Regions from separate parts of the Homo sapiens genome. Here region 1 is linked to region 2. The links are contacts of gene promoters, found by promoter capture Hi-C in human tissues and cell types (Jung and others, 2019). All regions are on one chromosome and are shown on one strand. The core of a region is centred on a gene start or on the middle of the fragment in contact, and the rest is flanking DNA. Distances in the headings are between cores, read along the strand shown.

Evidence for each region. Contacts are between HindIII fragments. The study calls those that stand out against the background at their distance.
Region 1: a contact is called between a fragment that was not itself captured here and the fragment with the promoter of EHF in region 2, in 3 of the 25 tissues and cell types used here (IMR-90 fibroblasts, pancreas and thymus).

What each region holds. Positions count from the first base shown.
Region 1 is chr11:34,788,431-34,792,327 of GRCh38, reverse strand. All of the region lies in intron 6 of LOC102723568 (a long non-coding RNA gene), which reads right to left. Among named protein-coding and RNA genes, the nearest start is that of APIP, 130 kb to the left of the region's middle. The HindIII fragment of the contact is 3,027 bases long and covers 475-3,501 here.
Region 2 is chr11:34,618,364-34,622,342 of GRCh38, reverse strand. It overlaps EHF (ETS homologous factor), which reads right to left and starts at 1,250. Exons shown (of 9, transcript NM_012153.6): 1 at 1,115-1,250. RefSeq lists a cis regulatory region at 2,950-3,349. The HindIII fragment of the contact is 9,385 bases long and covers 1-3,979 here.

The DNA of each region.
Region 1 (3,897 bases), core at 739-3,238, 170 kb before region 2:
TTGTAGGAGGTTTAGCAGTATCCCTGACTTTTATCCACTAGAGGCAGTAGTCCCCCACCCCCACCCCTACCCCAACATGATATCTGAAAATGTCTCTGGTCATTGCCAGAGGTCCTGGAGTGAAGGAGGTAAATTCAGCCCTGGTTGAGATAATAGACAAACTGCTTGTTGTTTCTCCGGGCTCTGGGCTTTTGCTCTCTCTGTGCCATAATGGCAAAAAACTGCCACACGGTCTGTGTGGCTCCTTAGCATGAAATAATAGGCACAAGAAGTGGTAACCACAAGGCAGCTTCCTAAAAACAGATGGAGTTTTTTAACATTGATAAATCTTTCTTTTGTATCCAGCCCCAAGCAAGCACACATTACTTTCATTTTAAGAGCAAGTTCTCTTTCTCAGATTGCTTGGTATATTCAAAACAAAACAGAAAGCCTTTGGAGTTTGGCCTCCTCCCATCTGCCTATATGTTTGCTACCCCCAGGGCAGAAGAGACAGAGGGACTAAGTTCAGAGGTTCATATACCTATGTAGTGCAGACTGATGTGAATGCTGCATCTGCTGATCTTCCCTCTCACCATCAAAGTAGAAGATTTTCTTGTGCATTTCAGGACAAGTGTGTCCCAGTGCTCATTCTAAAGGGTTTCCAACTCTGGGTTCTTAGTGTTGGTGCATTTGCATTTGAAGGGTACCCAAACCAGAAAGTTTGCTATTAGACTTCATTCCCACCACTATCATTTCAGGGTTTTGACAATGCTTCCACTTCAGGAAGCTGGACTTGGCAGAAATCAGCCAAACCTAAACTCAAGTGTTCATATAAACACCAGCTGAAGATCACAACTCATTTGTTAATTTAGTTGGAATCTATTGAGCACCTACTATGTACTAGCACTACGCCAGATGCCCAGGATATACATAGAGAAGCATACAGCCTCAGCCTTCGGCGAGCTTGTTGTGAGATAAAGGTAGAAGCCATTTCAAACAGAATGCAGTCTTTGATATAACAGGGAACCATAGAGCAACATGGAAATATGCTTCACTGTTGAAGCTTCAGTGTCTGGCTCATAGTAGAAGCTTAATATATATTTGTTGAAAGAATGTTAGAGGGGACCTGTCCTACACAAACTGAAAAGATTAAAAAAAGAGTCTTGCCAAAGAAAGTAGTACTTAGGTTTCCAAAGAAAAAGCAAGAGTTGGCCATGCAGAGAATGGAAAGGTAATTTCAGATAGAGACAGTAGCAGGTGCAAGGACGATGGCATGGGAATATGCATGATAGCTTAGGGTGGACTTCAAGGTCTGAAAGAATTGTCTGAGGAAGTGACTTCCTGGTTGTCTATTGCTGTATAACAAACTACCCCAAAACAACCATTTAGTTTTGTTTGTAATTTTGTGGGTAAGTAATGCAGAAATGCTCAGCTGGATGGTTCATCTCTCGTTTACTTGGCATTACCTACGGCCACTGGGGCTGAAGATTCACTTTCAAGATTTTTTTTCACTGACATTTCTGGTGCCTTGGTGTTTCTTGGCTTCCCTTCCTCTCTACATATTTCATTATCTCATTATCCAGGGCTCCTCCATGTGGCTTCTCATGACATGGCAGTCTCAGGGTAGCTAGTTTCCCCCAGAGTAAATAATCTTAGAGTGAGTATTTCAAGAAGCCCAGGTAAAAGCTACAAAGCCAGTGGGGCACGGTGGCTCATGCCTGTAATCCCAGCACTTTGGGAGGCTGAGGTGGGCAGATCACGAGGTCAGGAGTTCAAGACCAGCCTGGCCAACATACTGAAACCCCATCTCTACTAAAAATACAAAAATTAGCCGGGTGTGGTGGCACCTGCCTGTAGTCCCAGCTACTCTGGAAGCTGAGGCAGGAGAATCGTTTGAACCCCGGAGGCAGAGGTTGCAGTGAGCCAAGACCACGCCATTGCACTCCAGTCTGGGTGACAGAGTGACACTCGATCTCAAAAAAAAAAAAAAAAAAAAAAAAAAAGCTAGGAAGCCTTTTGTAACCTAGCTTTGGAAGTTCCAGAACATACTCCTGCATTCTTATGATCAAGCAAGTCACTGCAGCCAACCCAGATCCAAGGGGAGGGGAGTAAGAGCCCTTTACCTTAGTAGGGGAATGGCTTGCCTACAGAAGGAGGGAGGAAATTTGATTGCAGCCATCTTGGAGGAAAGCTTCCTCATGTGGGTTGCAGGGGTTGAGGAACTTGAAACTAAAGAGTCAAGCCTGAAGAACTTGGAGCAGCAAGCTAAGGAGTGAGCAAGGTACCCTGAATTCTGTGAGAAGCCATGGAAGAGTTTAGCATGTGAGTGGTCTGATGGGATCCATTTTAGAATGATCTTTCTCTGCCAGCTGTGAGAATGGAGGAAGTGGGAGAAGACTACAGGCAGGGAGGTAGCCATGAAATCTCTATAGCTTGAAAGAGCAAAAGTGACTTGAGGGACTGAAGACTGGGGATGGGAGAAGGGGTGTCATAAGTGAGACTCTGAGGAGCATTCAGTTATCTGAGGGCTCTGACACCTCTCCCAACACAACCAAACCAAACATGTTCCCTTCAAAATGAGAGAAGAAAGGCCTCATTTTCCATTCCGGGAACTGGATGAGGGGTAAATGGCAGCTGGCAACTAAGCTTGCCCTCTGTGGCTTAATGGCAACACCTTCTCAGGTTTGTTCAGAGCTGCCACTGAGGAAAACAAACAAGATTGGTGTGAAGACCATTAAAAAAAGGCCTCAGAACAAAGACTCCACTTGGCAGCTGTTGCTCAGAGCTGAGTGAAAGAAACAAAAGAGTTTGTTGAGCAAACATGAAAGGAGCCTAATTGATGCAATTAAGGTGAAATTAAATAAAGGAAGGTTTTAGCCCGAAGTTCATGGAAAATTTTTCAAAGGAGTGTCACTGGAATAGTCATTCAGGGCTTTTAAATAGAGGGAAGCACAGGATGTGGGAAATTGGCCTATTTGACCCTTGGGAATGAAGCAAATCAAGTGTGGTGATGTGGGCTACACATGTACGACTGTTTGGCCCTGGCTGCCCCATCTTGGGCAGGGAGTAGGCTGGGGTTGGGTGCGACTGGGGAGGGATGAGACAGAGGCAGCCCAGGGGGATCATCTTTAACAAGACCACAGTGTCTTGCTATCACATCACCCCATTTTATTTATTTCATAATACTACTATCTGAGAGTATCTTGTTCATTAGTCTTAGTTGTTTACTATCTGTCCTTTTCACTTCAAAACACACACACACACACACACACACACACACACACACACACACACACACACACACACAATGGAACTCTAGGTCTTCTTGGAACACAATTTCCAAGATGCCCATCTGGCTGTGTTGTCATCCCCAAATGCTGACACCCAAAAGCAAACATCTGTACCTCACACATGATCGCAAGCACTGCTCAGATGTCTCAGAACTGTGCCACAGGAAATTAATACCTGAAATCAACCCAAACAGGTCAATTTATTTAACAAACCAGTTACACAGGCCCTACTATATGCCAGGTACTCTTTCAAGCACTTTACAAATATTAACCATCTGGTCCTTGTAAGGACCTGTGAGTCAGGAATACGCTTGTCTGCATTTTACAGGTGAGGAATAGGAATAGAGAAGTCAGACTGTGTCTGAGGCACTAAGTGGAAGAGCCAGGACTTGAACTCAGGTACTGGACTCCAGAGGCCACACTCTCAACCCCTACACTAGGCCCCTTTGAATTGTAGTCAAGGCAGGATTCATGGACCCAGAGTATGAAATCCACTGGGAGCAGTGTAGCAGCACCATCTGAATCCTTGGTCTGGTTCCTTAGCATCTCACTCTCATCGGCTTTGGCTGCCAAGCACAAAGCCCACCCTCCTGCACTGATTGATGGTGGATGAAAGGAGACATCTAGA
Region 2 (3,979 bases), core at 1-2,500:
CCCTGTTACCAAGGTGAGTGCAGATAACCAGCAGAGACACCTGTGAACTTGAACCCAGAAGCATACACTCTCCATCTTAAAAACACACACTCCCACCATCCTGGGAGCATGGTAAATCAGCAAAGATGGACGGTGAAAATGTCGCTTTCTCACCTCAGCCTGATATTTACCAACAAGAAGTTAATTTCCCACTGTTCCCAGATCAGTCCACATTGGGGCTAACACTTCTCCACAATGTCCAAGCAAAATCAAAAGAATCCCTGTCTCAGAAGGCATTTGTTGCTGCTGAGTCACAACTGCCTGTCTGATCATAGTCTCCCAAAATGGAGTAAACAAAGGGTTAGTTTGTCCCCTTGTTACACAGTGAAGCCCTTTGCCAAAACTGATTGTTGTATTTTCTGGACAAAATGGAGTAAACAAAGGGTTAGTTTGTAAACAAAGGGTTAGCTTGTCCCCTTGTTATACAGTGAAGCCCTTTGCCAAAATTGATTTTTGTTTTTTCTGAATTTTTGTTTTTGTAGATATTCAGCTCTCCCCAATACCTCTGCCTGCCTTGGCTGCCTGGCCACTTTTTCCAGTGTGATTGTGTATGTTCTTGCCTATTTCTAGCCATTTTCCAGTCCTGGAACATATTAAAAACAAATTGGCCTTTCCATGTAGCTCATAAGTCAGAAAAATTACCAGCAGAAGACATCTCTAGAAAGCGAGACCGTGTACTCTGAGCCCTAACAGCTACTTAGCCAACCACTTCTTCTCTGAGCTATATCAGAGCCACCTATCTCTAGCTGCCTATTTGTTCCAGAAGAATTCAACCCAGGGGAATGGTTTTGCCACCCAGGCATAGGGAAACGAGGGGGCTTTTAAATTCACAGAGATTAGAAGTCCAGACAATGCAGGAAATTCACAGATAATATCCAAAGTAGCCAACCTGCCCTCCAAAATAAAATTCTGATTTGACCCAGTGAGGTAAGCCCAGGTAAGGTGAGCTTCACTTCCTGCCAGCCGTCTCCAAGAGTCTGTTCTAGTTTCATCTGTCCAGTTTAAAGCAGGCTTCTCTTTCCACTCAAGTGTTTGGATTCCAGATTCAAAAGAAGTTTTAAAAATCAGGACTTACCTCATTTACCTAAAGATTCTGGGTGGGAAATCCAATAGCTGTGGCTGTTGGAGGGGAGGCAGCAGGCTGCAATCTCACCAGCTCCTATAGGGATGGGGCACCACGGGTGTTATCAAGTCTGAGCCCTCATCAGAGTGAAGATAAATGCATATAACAATAATTTTAAATCATTTTGTAGGATGTTAAGCAATAAGCCACCAACCGGGAATTCCCTAAGTCACTTCCCCCTCTTCTGATTGGCTACCCAGCCCTTTAAAAAAATAAAATAAAGGATTACAAACACTGGCTCATTTGCATTTGGCCAACTCACACGTTAGTGTTCAAACAAAACAGGTCTAACCAGGTAATGCCTGTGTCTCAAGAACAGAGAGACAACCTGTTAATGGATGAGGAATTGATTTGGTGGTGACTGTTCTTTTCAGCTCAGAGGCTGTTTCAGGTGAAAAGCACCCTGCTCACCAAAGACACCATCGGGAAGAGGGAATGTAAAAGCAAAGTGAGTAGAAGTCCAAATCTGGAGGAGATGATGGTATGGAGGGGCCCTCTTGAGCACCTGTCTCATTTATTAGTCTGTATTTAGTCCACCCTGCTTTGGCATCAAGATCTTTTCCCTAGCTCTATAAGTACCAGGCTCTGAAGGGGCTCCCAGCAAGTTCCCTCTCCAGGCACCATGACTGCCTTCTTGACAGAGACTCTTGGCAATTCAATGGACTTTGAAAAGCCTATCTCCCCTGGCCCCAGGTAAGAGCCTTGAGAGGTTTGAAAGGGAAGGTCCTGGGAGGGAGGGTACCTTATGAGGAGATGCTTAGGTCAAGCAGTCAACTCTCAAATATGCAAGAGCTGATTATCCGGTTGGTGGATTATCTAGGTTCTTCACTTCCTCTTGACACTTACATGATCTTTTTTAAAAGGTTTATTGACACTCCCTATAAGAGTTAGAGATGAGAAGACCAAAATGCTGAAACTGGAAATAAAAAAGCACAGTTTGGACAAGAAGAAGGTGGAATATTAGGGAGGATCTACGGATTCAAATACCCAGGCAACCTCTATTCCCTTGGGCCAAGGGACATATGGGGAGTTACCTGTACCTGCTTCACTGGGTCACAAATGTACCTTCTCCCATACGGGTGAATGACTGCTCCTAGCAAAGAAAAATACCATCCCCCAACCATTAACTTTCTCTGTTGAACCTTCCAGGACACTGGCCTGGCATGAGCAAAGTGTCTAAGCAGATTTCTTTGACTCAACGGGCCTCCCTTTTGTGGGAGAGGGAAGGGAAGTTGAGATTTGGCAGAGATAAAGATTTTGTGATCAAAACCAAGAAGTTACTTGTGTTAAAAAGAAAAAAAAAGGTCTGCTTATGGTCAAAGGCTGACTGAATAGAATAAAAACTGGTTATTATATTAAGGGGGAACAGTGAGTGTGCAGTAGTATTAGTCTTTTCTTACTTATTTTTTCTAGTTTCTACACAAATTCAGAGGTTTCTGAAAGTGTAAAAGACTCAGTGGGAAAACAAGGGTGGACTTGGGAAGGTCTTGGAAGCTGGGCAGGTCTTGAAGAAGGGCTTGAGGCTTTGGTCAGTGCAGTTTAGGGGAGTTCTAATAAATCCCTCTGCCTCCCTAACCTGCCCCAGACATTCCCACCCTTCCCAACTGTTCAACCCTGTGAACTTGCCAAGGGCCCTGTGAAAATGCAAATGTAAACCCCGCCCCATATACACACTGATAAAAACAACAAATTTCATTATTTCCCATTATCACATTAGCCCCAATTAGTCTATCAGTTCCAGATCTGAGAGCAGGGCCCTGAGGGAATGGCCTGCTGGAGTTTTGCTTGAGAGACAAATCAGGCACAACCTGAAGTAACTACATTCCACCCACTGCAGGGCATTTGTGTGTAGTGATGGTGAAGGGGGGTGGGTGGCGGGGCACTCATGAGAAAAGGGAAGCATTATTGCTAGAGCCCGTGGGACTCCAGGGAAACAAACTTGGCCTTCTTTACACCATTGCCTGAGATTAACCTGAGACAGCAGGGTGGGAGTAGAAGGGCTAGGGTTGTGTGGTCAAGAGATAGTGAACTTCAAATGCAACCACAAAAGTGATGTGGCTCTCTGACCCAGTCCCAATCACCTTTAATTATAGGCCCTGTAATTTATAGCTGAAGAATTCTGGTTAAATCTCCATTTCTTTATCCACTTGTATTTAGTCCATTTTAGATTGGAGGGCTATTGAGACGAGTCATATTGGGGTAGTGATGGTGGGAGGGGAGGGAAAGATGTCACCTCATACTCACAAGCCACTTTATTTGTGGAGGTTTTTTTGTAAATAAAGTACCTAAAAGTGTGCCTGCTACTTGCTGGGTACTTATTAAGTATTGATTCTTCTTTTTACTTGGGTCTTAGTTGAACCTTCCAGAAGAAAAACAAAAATGAAAACAATACCCCTCACCCCCAACCTAAAAAAAAAAACACAAAAAAGCTAGAATTGCAGGTATATTGCATCCATACGGAAAGTCCTTTGGAGTTTGAGGTCTTTCACCCTACTGCCAACTTCAACAAGACAGTACTGGCGATAGATAGATAGATGATAGATAGATAGATAGATAGATAGATAGATAGATAGATAGATAGATAGATGATAGATAGATAATGATGGGATGAGATGGATGTCTCAAGGCCTTCTACTACAAGTCTCAGATATATCAAGTATGTCCTTTATGGATAAGAAGTTTAAAGTGTAATCACAAAATCATCAAACACAGCAGATCCTTAATATGGACACATTGTAAGTTCTCAAGGAGGACTCTGGCAAGAGAGACCTCCAGCACTTGTTCTGTGCTCCTGAATTCTCTGGGGGGCTGATAAAG